Linked DNA regions of Homo sapiens: regions 1, 2, 3, 5 and 6 are each linked to region 4. Evidence: promoter capture Hi-C in 16 types of primary human blood cells and fetal thymus (Javierre and others, 2016). All regions are on one chromosome and are shown on one strand. The core of a region is centred on a gene start or on the middle of the fragment in contact, and the rest is flanking DNA. Distances in the headings are between cores, read along the strand shown.

What was found. The method cuts DNA at HindIII sites, captures the fragments that hold promoters and counts their contacts. A CHiCAGO score of 5 or more calls a contact.
Region 1: a contact is called between a fragment that was not itself captured here and the fragment with the promoter of VCAN in region 4, in 2 of 17 cell types (fetal thymus and megakaryocytes). The highest score is 7.9, in fetal thymus.
Region 2: a contact is called between a fragment that was not itself captured here and the fragment with the promoter of VCAN in region 4, in 3 of 17 cell types (endothelial precursors, M2 macrophages and fetal thymus). The highest score is 7.4, in endothelial precursors.
Region 3: a fragment that was not itself captured here is called in contact with the fragment with the promoter of VCAN in region 4 in 5 of 17 cell types (megakaryocytes, fetal thymus, endothelial precursors and 2 more); the score reaches 13.0 in megakaryocytes.
Region 5: the fragment with the promoter of RPS23 here is called in contact with the fragment with the promoter of VCAN in region 4 in 1 of 17 cell types (fetal thymus); the score reaches 8.0 in fetal thymus.
Region 6: a fragment that was not itself captured here is called in contact with the fragment with the promoter of VCAN in region 4 in 3 of 17 cell types (endothelial precursors, fetal thymus and megakaryocytes); the score reaches 6.0 in endothelial precursors.

The regions. Positions count from the first base shown.
Region 1 is chr5:82,334,566-82,337,265 of GRCh38, forward strand. No RefSeq gene overlaps it. Among named protein-coding and RNA genes, the nearest start is that of RPS23, 58 kb to the left of the region's middle. The HindIII fragment of the contact is 189 bases long and covers 1,356-1,544 here.
Region 2 is chr5:82,302,661-82,305,360 of GRCh38, forward strand. It overlaps the pseudogene ATP6AP1L. Among named protein-coding and RNA genes, the nearest start is that of RPS23, 26 kb to the left of the region's middle. The HindIII fragment of the contact is 707 bases long and covers 1,020-1,726 here.
Region 3 is chr5:82,359,120-82,361,819 of GRCh38, forward strand. No RefSeq gene overlaps it. Among named protein-coding and RNA genes, the nearest start is that of RPS23, 82 kb to the left of the region's middle. The HindIII fragment of the contact is 1,156 bases long and covers 802-1,957 here.
Region 4 is chr5:83,470,402-83,473,101 of GRCh38, forward strand. It overlaps VCAN (versican), which reads left to right and starts at 1,343. Exons shown (of 15, transcript NM_004385.5): 1 at 1,343-1,622. RefSeq lists an enhancer at 1,772-2,644. The HindIII fragment of the contact is 5,577 bases long and covers 1-2,700 here.
Region 5 is chr5:82,276,966-82,279,665 of GRCh38, forward strand. It overlaps RPS23 (ribosomal protein S23), which reads right to left and starts at 1,389. Exons shown (of 4, transcript NM_001025.5): 1 at 1,355-1,389; 2 at 728-887. The coding sequence starts at 1,358. It also overlaps the pseudogene ATP6AP1L. RefSeq lists an enhancer at 1,380-1,709. The HindIII fragment of the contact is 8,285 bases long and covers 1-1,890 here.
Region 6 is chr5:82,384,204-82,386,927 of GRCh38, forward strand. No RefSeq gene overlaps it. Among named protein-coding and RNA genes, the nearest start is that of RPS23, 110 kb to the left of the region's middle. The HindIII fragment of the contact is 2,926 bases long and covers 11-2,724 here.

The DNA of each region.
Region 1 (2,700 bases), core at 200-2,699, 1.1 Mb before region 4:
TGATTTGATTTATTTATCTGTGACTTCTAAGACACTGGAGTAGGCCATGCACTGATGCCAGTATTGAGTGCCAGGAATTATGGTAAACTGCTTCTGGAGATGTTTAGGGTATGTTTCAGGAGGTCGGTGACTTTCGTTGCACCTAAGAATCTTGTCTTTCATTAGTGGATAAGATAGTAAACATAACCAACCGACATGGTAGTTAGGGTCATGCTGACTGCAAGTTTGCCTCACCTTTTGTAAGTAAGCACAGAGCCATGGATGAGTTATGCTGAGGAACTGGGTTGCAGGAACTTCTATTTACCCACAAGATAGTTTAAAACATTCAAACTGAAGTTACAATCCCCATGCTCTCTTCCTCAACGAACAGACATTCTTCTAGTGGAGACGCCAACCTGATTCCATCCAAAGCCAGTCTCATTCCTAGAATAGCTAACAACCACAGCTAAATATTTCCCAAGTAAACCCAGCTAAGAATAGTTCCTTATTTCGAGAGCTCTGACACAAGAAACTCAACACCCTGTTGGAGTCAGATAAGCTGAACTTTTTTCAAGAGCTTTGTCAAAGTGAGACTGAGGAGGATGGAGCCTGAGAAAAATCCAGACTGAGCCTTGTTAGACTTTCCACATCACCTATAAGGTGGTATCGAGTGAGGCTGCATTAGACTCAAAGTGCCTTTAGGCATGACTAGATGCTGAACTGACTGTCAGTGCCTTGGGCACCAAAAAGATTGACATTAACTCTGACCAACACTCACATTAAACATTCATTCTTAATATTTTGCAGTTCTTAAATGTTAGTACTGTCTGACATCTCTCCCACTTGTTCTACTAAAAGTTGCTGGAAAGCCGAAGCTCTGTTTTGCTTCTTTAAGCCAGAAAGACATGTTTATTTCTTAAGAGGTTCAATTTATGAGGGCTTATTATTAGTCCCAAAATATATTACTGGTTTGCCATTGATATGGTACTGGATCTCCTTTTCTTTCTTTTTTCTTTTTTTTTGAGACAGCGTCTTGCTCTGTTGCCCAGGCTGGAGTGCAGTGGCAGGATCTCGGCTCACTGGAACCTCCGTCTCCCGCATTCAAGTGATTCTCCTGCCTCAGCCTCTCAAGTAGCTGGGATTATAGGCATGATCCACCATGCCCAGCTGATTTTTGTATTTTTAGTAGAGACGAGGTTTCCCTGTGTTGGCCAGGCTGGTCTTAAACTCCTGACCTCAGGTGATCCGTCCGTCTCAGCCCCCTAAATTGCTGGGATTACAGGCGTGAGCCACCGCACCCGGCCTAGAACCCCTTTCTTAAGGACCCTGAGTGGGCAAGTATAAAAATCATCCCATTCTTATTAATGAGAAATAGAAGCTTAGATGAGTACTGACTCATGGTTCATATTTAGCAAATGACAGATCTGGGACAAGACCCCAGGTCTTTGGATTTCCTTTTGTCATGTTCCCATGACTCATGCCATGCCCACGTGCCTAAATGTCCAAGGCCTGCTCACCCCAGCTATTCTTATTCGTGTGTCTGTTTTAGATTGGCAAGGAAAAAAAGCTTTCTAACTTTTCTAGGAATGGGTCTCAACCCACAGCATAATATTTGAGGCAAATATCCTAATTTTCCCCAGTACCAAAAAAGATCATTTTTATATTTCTTATACAAGTCTCCATATCCATAAGCATGTCACAGTATTCTTTGACTAAGGCACTGACTCTATTGTTTCAGCATGGCTGCATTTGTTTAACATAAATGGTTTGCATTTAGACTGCCTTGCGCTTTCTTCTCCGGCCTAAAGTATTTCTTCCAAGCTAGAATGCTTTTTCTTCTTTGGCATCCATTAAAAATCATTGGCAACATGGCCACGTTCCAGAAACACTTCTGTAATGCCAACCACAGGAATTGATGTCTAAAAATAAGAATTGAAAAATAGGTTTAAGTTAATGCCCAGAAAGAAATATTGCCATGTGTCTTTACTGAAATTTGGTAAAATCCATACTAGAGAAAAGTGTGAAATACATGAAACCCTTATTGCTGCTTCCTGTAAAAACCTTGGCAGAGTAGTTAGTGAGAGCTCATCCTTTTTCATCTGTCTCTCTCCTATTAGCCACTTTTCATTCTTGACTTAAGGTTGTGTAAGTTCAGGAGAGATTCTTACTCTGTCTGGAACCCATAGCTGAGCAGGCTTCCTGGGAAGAAGCTGGGCTCCTCACTAACTAATGATGTCCCAGCTCTTGAAGTTTCTGTTTTCATTTGGCCATCATTTGTTGCTTCCTTTATGGAAATGATTAAACTCAGCAAATGATGAAACATGAAATCAAATAGTGTGGGCAGTTTAAAACTGGTTTGAAATACAGTGTGGAAACTAAAAAAAAAAATTAATATTAACTATCTGGGATCTACCTACTCCTTCCATCTAAAATTCCATTTCAGTTCATTCCATGAGAATAATTATACCCTGAAATAAACCATTCTTATTTGTCTTTTATAAGTCTTTACTCAGCTTTCCCCTATATTTTTCATCTTACTTCTGATTTTCAAACACACAGTCCAGTGATAAAGCCCTATACGCAGTCCAATCACTTATAACTCATGAAATGCATCATATGTTGCCAGTCCTTTATTTCTTCCTCTTTCCCTCCCTCCCTTCCTTTCCTTTTTCCTTTCCTTTGTGCACACAAACTATAAGAAATTCATAGGGCAGGCTGCTA
Region 2 (2,700 bases), core at 123-2,622, 1.2 Mb before region 4:
TAATTGAGTCAGTCTTTTTTTTGAAAGGCTGGATGTTTTGGCTTTGATAGGTTAACAATGCAATGTAGTATAAAATTTCACTGTAAAATGTTTTATATGCTTTATTACTTTGTTATTTTATATTTGTTATTGGTTAAACCTTAGCGTGTAGCACATTGCTTGGCACATAGTAGGCCCCCCCATAATATCATTCAATGAATAAGAATCAGGTTTGATTTAAAATAATTTTTCTGGCTGGGCATGATGGCTCACACCTGTAATTGCAGCACTTGGGGAGGCTGAGGTGGGTGGATCACCTGAGGTCAGGAGTTCAAGAGCAGCCTGGCCAACATGGTGAAACCCCATCTCTACAAAAAATACAAGAATTAATAGGGTGTGGTGGTGCATGCCTGTAATCCCGGCTACTCAGGAGGTTGAGGCGGGAGAATCACTTGAACCCAGGAGGCAGAGGTGGCAGGGAGCCGAGATCACACCACTGGACTCCAGCTTGGGTGACAGAGTGAGACTCCATCTCAAATAAAATAAAATAAAATAAAAATAAATAAAATAATTTTTCTTTCTAAAATTTTTCTTTATTTTTCATTTTCTTTTTTGAGGAACATATGTTACTTTCTCTCTCTGTTAAATGCAGAGACAGCAGGGGAGAGACATATTACTGTTTAAATGGGAAATTCACTGTTAAGAAATGAACAGTTTTGGCAGGCTGTTTCTGCTCCTCTATTCTGAGATGTAATAAAGTGAAATATACTTCTTAAAATTTCGTGTAACATCTAAATTATGGATATTTATTCAGCATCTTTTAATTTTTTTTTTTTTCTAATTTCAGTTCTCCAACATCTTCAAATAAAGAAGTGGTTATGAGGAATGGTAAGACTCCAGTTGCCCACATGATTCCTTGTGGGGTGGAGAAGGGCTTTTTCTGTGATAGAATTCCCTGACCAGTGGTGTCTGTACCAGGAGTCACTCATGTGAAATCTTTTATACTAGTGCATCATAAATTATGAGCCAAAAGGGGCTCAAGCTTGATATATGTGACAGTGCTTAGCATTGCTCCCAATTACATTAATAAATGACATTTAGCATTTGGTAACCACATCATCATTTATTTGACAGATCAGAATAATGGAGATATGAAACCATTCCAGAATTTCACAACAATACCAATCACACAGGTATGGCTATGTCAGGAAACCAGATTGTAATCTAGCTCTAAAAAACTTAAAAACACATTTCAATCATGTCTGTGCTCTGTGAAAATATAAATAATAATTGTATTAATAAGTAACATATTTTTGCTTCAAATTTGGGTGGGGAAACATATTGTGGAATCTCTTCTTTTTAAAAGTCAACTTTTATTTTGGATACAGAGGGTCCATGTGCAGATTTGTTACGTGAGAATAGTGCATAATGCTGGAGTTTGCGGTATGAATCCCATCACCCTGATAGTGAGTATAGTATCCCATAGGTGGTTTTTTAACCCACTCCACTCCCTCCATCCTCCAGTCATCCACAGTTTTGATGGTTTGCATATTTATGTCCATGTGTACTCAGTGCTTAGCTCCCACTTATAAGTGAGAACATGTGGTATTTGGTTTTCTGTTTATTATGGAATCTTATAGTTGGGAAAAACCTAAAATACTTAATTTTACTTGCTCTCTTATATTTTCATTACAATATTCAGCTTCACTTTTGTTGCTATAATAATAATAATCTTTAGTTACTGATAAGCTTAAGTTGCTGCTCTCTATTAACTAATTTTTCTTTTATCTGTATTTACACTAGAGTAATTGGTGCAAATTTCTTTCTTTGTATTGTACATTTTGTGGGTTTTAATAAATGTGTAATGGCATGTATTTATCGTTACAGGATGTGAATTAGCTCTTTCATTTCTAGGAAGCCTTTTGTAACATAGACACAAATTCATCTCTTATGTTCTTTTTATTTGGTTAATTAGGCTCTCAACTACAATCTGAGCAAAGAAGGGCATTTAGAAAAAGAACCTTGGAATGCATTCAGCCATCATGGCCCAGTTAATGTCTCCATCAATGGAATTCCTTGCATTCTCTTCTGGGCCAAAAGAATAATGATTAAATTTAAGAATCAAACCTGGCTGGACCTTACAGACGAGCCATTTGGTCAGAAGGTAACTGTGGACCCTGACAACTCAAATTGCAGTGAAGAAAGTGCTAGGTAAGTTGATCTCTCAGTTTGAGGAAGCCCCTAGGGCTATTGCGTTCTGTTAACTCTGCATTCAACTTTTTTTGTCATTTCAGAAAAAAAAAGTAGGCTCCTTTGTATAGGACCCTGACACACATCTTTGAGGAAGTATTTACTGTCTAAAATAAAGGAACAAGTCAGAAGTTAACTTCAAAAATTGTTGGCTGGGCATGGTGGCTCACGCCTGTAATCCCAGCACTTCGGGAGGCCAAGGGAGTGGATCACCTGAGGTCAGGAGTTGGAGACAAGCCTGGCCAACATGGTGAAACCTCGTCTCTACTAAAATACAAAAATTAGCCGGGCGTGGTGGCAGGTGCCTGTAATCCCAGCTACTCAGGAGGCTGAGACAGGAGAATTGCTTGAACCTGGGAGGTGGAGGTTGTGGTGAGCTGAGATCGCGCCATTGCTCTCCAGCTTGGGTGACAGAGTGAGTGAGACTCCATCTCAAAAAAAAAAAATTGTTATATTTTCCCGGCAGTTTTC
Region 3 (2,700 bases), core at 130-2,629, 1.1 Mb before region 4:
AGTTGGCTGATAAGACCTTGAAGAAAGAAGATATTTTAAAACTTTAATTGAAAATCCCCATTCCTTCTCATTGAAGAAGCAAAAGAAGAAACTATAATGATGGACACTCTGGTGCTAGTATCAGTCATTTTGATCACAAGACGTGGACCAGCCCACCTTGGAGCTCACTGTGGTGGTGGCCTGGTCCTAATGCAAGTCCTAATGGAGCTCTTGGAACTGGCTGTAGCCTTTGCTGAGCAGGAGCAACTATGTCTCTGGTTCTTAAGGATTGAAAAGGTAAGGTTGCAGTTCTGGATGCTGGCATTACTTCAGGGCAACACACACACACACATACACACACACACACACACTCAGTACTGTAAGTCATCCTTTCTCTCGTAGGGGAAGATGTGTACTTTTTTTTTTTTTTTTCTTGAGATGAAGCCAAACTGAAGAAAAACGAACAGAAAAAAGAATCACAGGCCCACAGCTTACATGTCATTCATACAGGCAGGATTCAGGGCCTCGGCTTCTGCCAAAAGAAAAAGACATTCTACACCCCTATTTCTTAATAATAAATAACGATTTCTACAGCAACAAATGCTTTTAACTCTGCCCCCATCTCTGCTCTATGAGCCTTGAAGGCATTGCAGTTTGAGACCTGCGAGTTGGACCTTTGTCTGCCTGTACTTTCTGAGAACTCATGTAAGAATGAAAACACACACATATACACACACACACAAACACAAAAAACAACAAACACCAAAGCATTCTGACATGAAACTCTGGCGCCCATTTCTCTGAGGCAGTACATCATTTTAAAGCTTTTAATTTCTAGAGTAAGGAGTACATTAGTTGTGCCAAATGAATATTCAAATTGCAGGTACTCCAGGATTTATGCTGATTCTAACTTTGAGGGTTGCACTTTTGAGTTTAATTTTGTCTTGTTTTAAGCATGGGAGTGAGGGGAAATACAGGAGTGCACAAGTAGGCAAAAGGGCAGGCATGATTGATGGCCATAGAAAGTCCTGACAAATTTGTAGTCAATATTGTTTGTCTAGAGAGGATTGTGTGACAAAAGAAGTGTCAGCAGCCACTGAAGTCTCATTCTTCAGGACCCAGCCTCCGAGTTAGAATAGGGGGCTTGAGTGAAATGCCTGTCACGCTTAATTGGAAAAATCACTCCAGATGAGTGAGAGAGGCTGACAGTTATGCATTACAGAGAGAATTTAGTGTGTCTTACAAGGTTGATACAGGCACCAAAAGTGACTGGCTTTAGCTTTTCCCTATTAGGACGGCCACTAGAAGGATAAAACCCAAGAAAAGAAGCTACTTCTTGCTTCAGATTCACAAGTGCTTGTAAAAGACTTCCACCTTCATTACTTTCATTGTCACGCCGGTCTTTACCTCAATTCCTTTTTTTTTCTTAGGTTTTCATTCTGTCCTGGCTTTCTTAAATACCAGGGACAATTTCACTGGGCATACAGTGGAGAAAGGGAAACCATAGACTTACTCATTCTCTCTCTGTCTCACTCTTTCTCTATCTCTCTCTCTGTCTCTCTCTCTCAGTGTGAATGTTTGCCTGTCTTTGTGGAATTGGTAATGAACATTTCCAGCCATTACTTCCAGTGCACAAAGGCTAAACTCACTTTGTCATTTGATAATTTGTTTATCTGTCAGCATCTCTCACCCTGAAATGATGAGGCTTTGGGAGAGCTGTGGTTTCTCATCCAGGTGAAGTCTGAGAGCCTATGGTTCTATAAGGGCTAGAGAGTTTGAGAGCGGAGATGGATAACTTGTTCTCTGAGTCCTGGGAGCCCGCTGTTTCAGGGCTAGCACCACCAACATTTGGATGCTTGGGTGCAATTTGGTCATGGGTCTCTTCAGTTTAATTTTCATCTTCCTGTTGGGTGTCTCAGCATTTGTCTCTGTGATCGCATAGATTTTTGAGAGGCTGAGGACGGCTGCTTTGCCTTGAAGCTTCTGAGCCTGTTTGGCCTCCAAGACTTCAGCCACCAAGTTGTTACACAGCAGTGCTTCCTTTGTGTTGTCCCTTGGTGATGTGTTGTGGTTGGTGGCATTTATGAAAAGGATGTGGCCTTAAAGACTGCTTAATTCCAAACTTGCATAATTCAGGCCATATCCTGAACTCAGTTTTACTGTTCATTTGGCCTGCCAGCCTTAAAATTCTTTGATCCTCAGAAAGAATTTAAATTTGAGGCACTTACATTACTTCACATTTTGAGTGTGAAGAGACTATATGAATTTTTCATGTTACACTATTTCGAATTTGTGTAAAATATGGCCATGTTAGAATAGTCTATTGGGGTTTGTGACTGTTAACTCTTACAATTCTTAAAAGTATAATCTAATTCATGGAGCTAAGTTCCTAAATCCTACTCATAGAAATGTGAGTGTAAATCTTTTGTAGATGAGTGGGTAAGCTAACAAGACTTGGAAAGTATTTTGAGGTAAATGTTAGGGCTATTATTAATATCTTTATATGGCACAGCCTGAAATGCCTCAGTAACAAATTAATTTAGTTGAATTCAATAAAGATTTATTTAGTACCTACCAAGGGCCAGCCCAGCAGAATAGTAGACATTGGAGCTACCACATGGATCAGGAATTGAAGTCAGTGAGTTGAACTCGAGGACCCAAGAATGGTAAACTCAAGCCAGCCATGTGTGACCTTTAACATTGCAGAATGTATTTATCTTA
Region 4 (2,700 bases), core at 93-2,592:
AAAATTGGCTTTCATCTTTAATCACTACTGTTTTGAGGTCCTATGTTTAATATAATTTTCTAAGTAGAGGCTTCAGAGAGAAGAGTTGTGAGGATACTTTCATATTTGTGTAGAAGGAAAAGTTTGCCATCCATTCTAGTATCCCTAGTGTTATACTGATGTGCACCTTGGATTTATTTTGTTCCTATTGTATAAACTCATACTTGACTTCAAAGAAAAGGAAAATCCAAAGTCCCTCTTTTCTAAGGGGACAGAAATCCTTTGTGTCAACTGTTTGACCCTTTTCTCTGTAAGGTCCTATTGGAAATCTTTTGTAACACAATGCAGGGGACTCTTCCATGTGTTGATGCTGTTTACACAGTGGGGTGGGCCTGACTGAAGAAAAAAAATCGCATATACGCATGAAAGATTATGGTCTTATTTCCGGAAAGCATGAAAGGTGATTGATACTTCCAAGAAGTCCCTGTTACTCAGGAAAATTATCAAATATTCTACTCAGAGATACTTGGAAAGACTGAAGGAAAGGAAGAACGAAGAAAGCAGAATCTAGACTTATGTGGGGAGAGATTTGTGGCAGAGGAAAAGTATTCTCTTTGAATCCGACAAGGGATTTGCCTGGGGGAATTTCCTGTCCAGCCTTTTATTACCAGGGTCTTTTGAAGCCGGGCTCCCCATTGGGCAGTTCCCTGGGAGTGCAGTGGGGAATTCTTACACTTTCCCTCTAGGTCCCCGAAGGATCTCGTTTTCTCAGTGTCTCTTTCAGGTTGGCAGGAGCCTTGAGCCTGACACTTCCCTTTGATGGGACAGGCAAGCTCTGTGGGCGCGTAAACACGCTGTAACCAAGTTCTTTGCTGATTTTACAGTTTTGTGTGCTCCCGAGAAGAAGTGATCGTACTCAATTGTCTATTGCTGGCCTGCCCCCTAAGAGCCTGGGGGCTCCTTTCCCCTAACCCAGAACTAGCTGCACGGGGGGCGGGGAAATGGGGGTGGGGAAGGAGTGGGAGGGCAGTGGTTTCCGCGAGCAGAGCGATGTTACTGAGTGAGTCCCTGAATGGGGAGCGCTGCTGTCCCCAAGCCGATTGGTACTTCTTGTCAGGAAGAAACGCCAAGAGGTGGGAGTGCCTGGGGAGGGAGGCAGGCGGTCCCTACCGCAGGCGCGGGGAGCTGCCTTTCCGCCCCTCCGCCTGCTTTCCAAGCCTGGACTCTTAGGAGTGGCTGAAGCTGCGGAGCGCTTTTGGAGCCTGTGAATGAACCCTCCTCCTCTCCCTCCTCCTTCTTCTCGCTGAGTCTCCTCCTCGGCTCTGACGGTACAGTGATATAATGATGATGGGTGTCACAACCCGCATTTGAACTTGCAGGCGAGCTGCCCCGAGCCTTTCTGGGGAAGAACTCCAGGCGTGCGGACGCAACAGCCGAGAACATTAGGTGTTGTGGACAGGAGCTGGGACCAAGATCTTCGGCCAGCCCCGCATCCTCCCGCATCTTCCAGCACCGTCCCGCACCCTCCGCATCCTTCCCCGGGCCACCACGCTTCCTATGTGACCCGCCTGGGCAACGCCGAACCCAGTCGCGCAGCGCTGCAGTGAATTTTCCCCCCAAACTGCAATAAGCCGCCTTCCAAGGTAATCACGTTTCTTTTGTTCCCCCCTTAAAAAACAAAAACAAAAAACTTATAGAAAAAAACCCGCGAGCTTAGAAAAAAGAAGCAATTGGTAGAAGGCTTTAATTAAGGCAAAGAGCTGTAAGGCGAAGTTAAGAAAATGTAGGCACTTAAAAAATGCAGGTAACTTTCATAAGGGCTTTTGGGGAGAGGCATACAGAGGGACCTTGGTGTTGAAAAAGATTCAGACAAAAGAAACCCAGGGTGGGGTGGGGGGTAAAATGACTAACGGAATTGGGGGAAGGGAGGGAATAAATTGTAAAGAAATCATAGAAAAGTGGTGGGTTCTTGAGCTGGAGAGAAGAGAGGGACCTTTGGCACTTTGATTTTTTTGTTGTTGTTGTTCTTAACACGCTCGAGGCAAAAGTTTGAATGGGGACTACCAAGACTTGCCACAGACAAGTCCCCGAAGCCGCCTTGGTGCAGGCCACCTGGTTTCCCAGCCCCTGGTGTGTGGTCAGTGCCTGGTGTTCCTGGAAAGCCACTCCCGGGCAGCTCCTGACAGTGCGACCCGGCGCCCAAGCAGCCTGGGACCTTGCGCGGACCTGACCCCTTCAGACCGCAGGCAGTCTGGGAGGAGGTCCGGCCGGGGGAGGTGCAGGATCCCCGCCGTGTCTCTTTGACGACTTGGGGACTGTCACGGTTCTCTCCCGGCGCCCCTGGGTTCTTTTGTCCTGCACGCGGTGCGAAGGGGCCAGCAGGGAAGGAGCAGAGGATGGGGGGTGGGGTTGTTGGAGCCCCGCGGAGGTCTGGGAGGCCCCTGGGCGGGAAAAGCCTGTTCTGAATCGGCAGGGATGTGCAACAATTTTTCTCACCCTGAAGAGTGAAATAGGGTCTGTCGCTCCCATCTCAACAAGCAAACCGGCACCCAGAGCGCACTGCAGACAAAGGTGGCTCGGGGACCCGAATCAGGGGCCTCTGGGTCAGTCCTCTCGCCCAGACTACAGGAGTCCTCCGTTTCCTTACATATTCCCCACCCTCTCCTAGTTCTCCGCTCTAGTTGAGCAACTTTACTGGCAGGTCTAGCGGCAGCGGCGCGC
Region 5 (2,700 bases), core at 139-2,638, 1.2 Mb before region 4:
CCTGAGGTCAGGAGTTTGAGACTAGCCTGGTCAACATGGTGAAACCCCATCACTACTGAAAATACAAAATATTAGCTGGTGTGGTAGTGGGCGCCTGTAATCCCAGCTACCTGGGAGGCTGAGGCAGGAGAAATGCTTGAACCTGGGAGGCTAAGGTTGCAGGGAGTCTTGCGCTACTGCACACCAGCCTGGGTGACAGAGCTAGACTGTCTCAAAAAAAAAAAAAAAAAAAAAAAAAGTCTGGGTTAAAATGGCTCTACCATCAAATATGATAGAACTATATGAAATTATTATTTTAAAAAGTCAAAACCAGTCAAATACTGGCAGTTTCATGTCTCAATCTTAGGTGTATGACCTCAATTAATTCTGATGCAAGTCACTTCTCTTCACCTTAGTTTTATCAAGTCGATAAAGTTCAATAGCTGACACGTGCCATTTACTTATAACAACTCCCACAGTAAAGGTGTTTGTGTCCTTTACTTCATCATTGCTAGTATCTTCTCCAATTCCTTCCAGGCCAACGTTAAATTAAAACCTTAACTACCTAATTCCCAAAAACTAATTTTACCAACTTTTAAATAGAACAAACGCTTTGCAATTTTACCCCACAATGCCCAAATGAATACTACTACACAAAAACCTGCAATTACTTTCAAAACAAGAATTCGTAAGTTCATGTCTCGAATTCCTATAATAAACTAAAACTTGACGGGAGCAATGGACTTACACTTTTTCCAGCACGATTCCTTTTGCATGAGAAGCACCTCCAAAAGGGTTGGCCTTTAGGGCTGTGCCCAAATGAGCTTTCTTATACTGTTTATCATGCCACTTCTGGTCTCGTCGGTGACTACGGAGCTTCCTAGCAGTACGAAGTCCACGACACTTGCCTAAAAATTAAATATTTTAGTTCTTCCGTAAAAACACGCCATCTACGTGTTTCCCATCTTCTAAGACACTCGCCTCACCTGGAATAAACCCTTAAGCCGATTGGCTCTCGTACTATTTATTGGCCTGTGGGCCAAACATTTGGCCTTCAAGTTGCCCTGAACCGACTAATAAACGTTCGAAGAGGGCTCCGGAGAATGTGTTCTCCCGAAGGACGAGGCCCCGCTCGAATGCCCGGGAGGAAGCGCTGGCCTCCCTGCGTCCCTCGGTACCCCGACCTCGGCGGCCTCCACGCCTCATGGGCCCCTTCCGCGCCGGACCACGTGCCTCCTGGAGCGGCGCTTCCCCGGCCCTCCCCCATGGAGCCTCTCCATGGCATCCCCCGCCCTACTCTATTCGCATCCGCCCGCCCGTCCCCAAGACCCCAAGTCCCGCTTGCAGCGCCCTTAAACCGGCCACAACAGCTCACCCATCCTGTCGGCGCCACGGGCCTGAGCGAAAGAGAGAAGCACCGCAGGAAGGAGCCACAAGCCACCGCGAGCAAGCCCCGCCCAGCCAAGGACCCCGCGCCGCTGTCTGCGCCGCGCCTGACCCGAGGCTGGGGTCTCTCCTTTGAAAACGACGCGTTTGCATCACTTTCCTGAGCCAGAATCTGCGTCTTATTTAATTTGCAAGAAATTCAGAGATATCTAATTTGCATGGTTTTTTTTCCCCCTTTTTCTTTTGAATGCTGGAGACCGGAGGAACATGGACTACCAATCCCAGAATGCGTTTTATGGGACCCGCTCACCGCGCAGGCGCTCTTGCCCAAGCCACTGAGAGCGGGACGCGGGGCTAGGTCAGAGTAGGAAGGAGTCGCTGAGCTGAATCTTTGTGGAGTGGAGTGGGGCGAGAGTCCTCCGAGTAGTCTGGAAAATTAGACTTCTGAGCCTTAATTCATACTTATAAGCAGCTAGTAAATTGTAAAATATAGTGAAGCAATGTAGTGTAGTAACTAAAACCCCAAGCTTTGGAGCCAGATTGGGCCTTTAACCCTAAAGTTGCCGTTTATTTTGACTGGCGAGTCATTTACTTATAGATTTATTTATTTTTATTTTTATTTTTTTCTGAGACAGGGTCTCACTCTGTCTTCTAGGCTGTTGTGCAGTGGTGCGATCTTGGCTCACTACAACCTCCGCCTCCCGGGTTCAAGCGATTGTCCCACCTCAGCCTCCTGAGTAGCTGGGATTACAGGCTTCCACCATCACGCCTGGCTGATGTTTGTATTTTCAGTAGAGAGGGGGTTTCACCATGTTGGCCAGGCTGGTGTCGATCTCCTGACCTCGAGTGATCCGCCCGCCTCGGCCTCCCAATGTGCTGGGATTACAGGCGTGAGCCACCGCGCCTGGCCATTTAATTAACTCTTTAATACTGTTTCTCCTGTAAGATGAACTAGCTGTGAGAGGTTTCTGGGATATTGGTTCACTCAGCAAGGATGTTTAAAAATGCCTTCTATGTGCCAGACGCTGTTGTAGGTACCGGGAATATGGCGGTTAAATTAAGAGGGTGAAGGTTTCTGCTCTGATACAGTTTATATTCTAAATGTGAGAGGACAGACCAGTTAGATAGATGTAAATTAAATAATTAAATAGATGATTTTTACATACTGTAGAGCTATAGAGAAAATATAGCTGGATGGGTGATAGTGACTTGGGGATGGGGGTGGCTACTCTGGATAGGGTAGTTTAAGGTGACATCTCTGTGCAGATGTAGAATGGGCTAGTGCTTTCTAAGAACTGAAAGATCAGTGAAGAAGGGGAGCATAGTGACTGAGGA
Region 6 (2,724 bases), core at 224-2,723, 1.1 Mb before region 4:
CTGGGTGGCAAGCTTTGTAAATATTAATGGAGATTCCAAATTCCACTGTGTCTGCAGTAATTTAGAAGCAGTGTTAGCAGCGAAGGGTCAAGGGCAAAACAACAACAACAAAAAATGATGTGGGTGGGACTTGGATCTCTTTACTGTAAGAAAAATTCTTCTTTTTTGGAAAATTCTTTTTGTCTCTTCAGTGTCTGTGGCCATCTGAAAACGTCCACATGATGCCAGACCATGCTTTACTCTGAAAATCCACCGATAAGGTTATTTGACCTCTTTCTCTCTAATTTCACAGTGTCAGTCTTTGAGCTGAATAATTTCAAACAGATTTGACTCCCAAGAGACCTTTTTCTTTGTGGAGCAAACCACGAAGAAACACTTGAATAGTGGGTGAAATGACGAATACTCTAAACCTCACAAACTATTAGGAATCAATTTCTCAAACATCATACCTAATTATTCTCCCTCCCCCATTTCAATTCAGGAATCTCAAGGTTAAGGAAAAGCAGCTGAAAAAACAGTATTCTTGGTTGGGTTCATGTACTGCCCATTTTTCGTTTTTTTATAACTGTAGGATAGAAAGGAGAGAAACTTCTAAAATCTGCCCCTTTAATTGCCAAAAAAGAACACTCAGAGAAAGAAAAGTTTGTGCTATTATGCAGAGATGATAGTGTTGGCAAGAATCATAGAGACGCCTCTTGTTTAGTGGTTCTCAAAATGTGGTCCTCATGGGGACACCAGGGGTTTTCTGAGTTGGGAGGGACGGAAGAAGGAAGGGCAGGTGATTCAGCTGCTGTGGTGGCCCCATGGCCAGGAGGGAGAAGTGGATTCCACAGAGGCTTCAGTAGAAGGCAGAGAACTTGCAGGTGATGCAAAGATGTGTTTGTGAATAATCACACCGGGTATGTCAGTGCTGTCCTAGTATTTGTGCCTGTGGAGGTGCAGAAGCAGCAGATGACAGTGAATGGAGGGCACTTGGAATTAGAAGGCAGGAATAGGTAGTTTCAGTGCTCAGCGGGGTGGGTAGTCTTTGGGCCATTTCAACAGGTCCAAGATGTGTAGAACAAATAGTTTAAGAATTATGCATCAGTCTAGGCCTTGTTCTGTGTGTAAAGTTATTCAAGACAGTCATCTGAGATAATTTGAAGACCAAGAATAGGTGCCACATCCACACTTTGTAGGAAGTTTAATGGTTGAGCTCCTTTAGAGTCAAAATTCATATATAATATGTCATATCTATCATGTAATTTCAAAATTCGTATATAATATGTCATATGTATCATGTAATTCCTGCTGAAGTGTAAGACTCCATTTCTTTTGTTAGGTACGTTGAAGATGGAGAACAACTGATGTCAAGACACATTTTGGTTGTAAGGGACAGAAGTCCAACTCCAACGAGCTTGCCAAGGATGGAACCTGCTGGCAAACATAACCAAACTTTGGGAAGGGCAGGGTATGGTTAACCTCAGGTTTCTGGAAGCAGAGTGTACAGTGCTGTGCCGTCCCTCTTCTCTCTGCTTCTCTCTGCGTATTGGCCCTATCCTCTCAGTGGGGCACCCTCCCTGAGCAGCGAACAGCAGCCACAGGAAGCTCCAGTGTCAATGCCTCCCACAGCTTTCCAGAGAAGCAGCAGCCTCTTTGTTAGCTCCGTATCAAAGACATCCACAGGCAGGGCTTTGTGTGACCCAGTTTGGGTCACGTCTTTATTTGGGGCCCGGAGGAAATGGATACAATGACTACAGCCCATCATAGAACCTCATGTTTAGAGGACCAAATTTCCTCTCTCCAAAAGTGAAATGTTGTCACTGTCCATTCAACTGATGAAAATCTTCCTTTTCAACAGAAAAACTATCATGATGTTGTCTGTTGGGCTTCAGTTTCTTACAGCAGTCATCTTAAGAATTAAACTGGTATGGATAATCTGACTATGAACTCCTTGAGGGCAGGGACCATATTATATAATACTTCTGTGTCCTCTGCTATTTCTTAGCAGAATTTTGAAAATGTGCCAAGTGTTGACTTGGTTCGATCACTTGTGAGAATGGAGGGACCCATAATGTTAATAATCAATGAAGGTTGTTGGAGTTACTTACCCAAAACCTTATGAACTTAGCCTTCCCTAGCAGATTTAGTTTCGTAATTTGTCCGGTATAAGCAAACACTAAAGAGGGATTGGGGAAAGTTGTGAGTTGAGTAGTTGGGAAAAAGGTAGTTTGCAGTTTTATTTACGTCTCACAGCTTGACATTTTTTGTTTGCCTTGGAGGGGGTACTTTTAAAAATTCCTCTTTTGAAAACAATAAAATCTTAGATTTTGGATAACAGATATTTCTGTACTATATACCTCACTTAAGATTTTCAAAGTAATGTTTAAAAGTGCCTTTTATATTTTTTCATACCACATTGTAGGGAAGGCCAGGGTCATTTTTTAACACTTAACTATGCTCAATACCTCCTCACCACTATAAAGTAAGGTCGAATGTTGGTTAAAGCAAAGCTGTCTGGAATCACCCTGTCAAAAGTACTGATTTATAACCTTGCTACTCACATTTCTTACTGTGGTGCCCTCCCTCTTGTTGGCTCCTGCATCTTTGAAGTACAGGGAAAATGAACTAATATGGCAGCTCCAATATGCAGCTAATCCTGCCAATGATGTCTCCCCTGGAAGTGTTTGAGAGAAGAATTTCTTTTCCCAGTATGGATTTATGTAAACATTTGTTCCATTCACG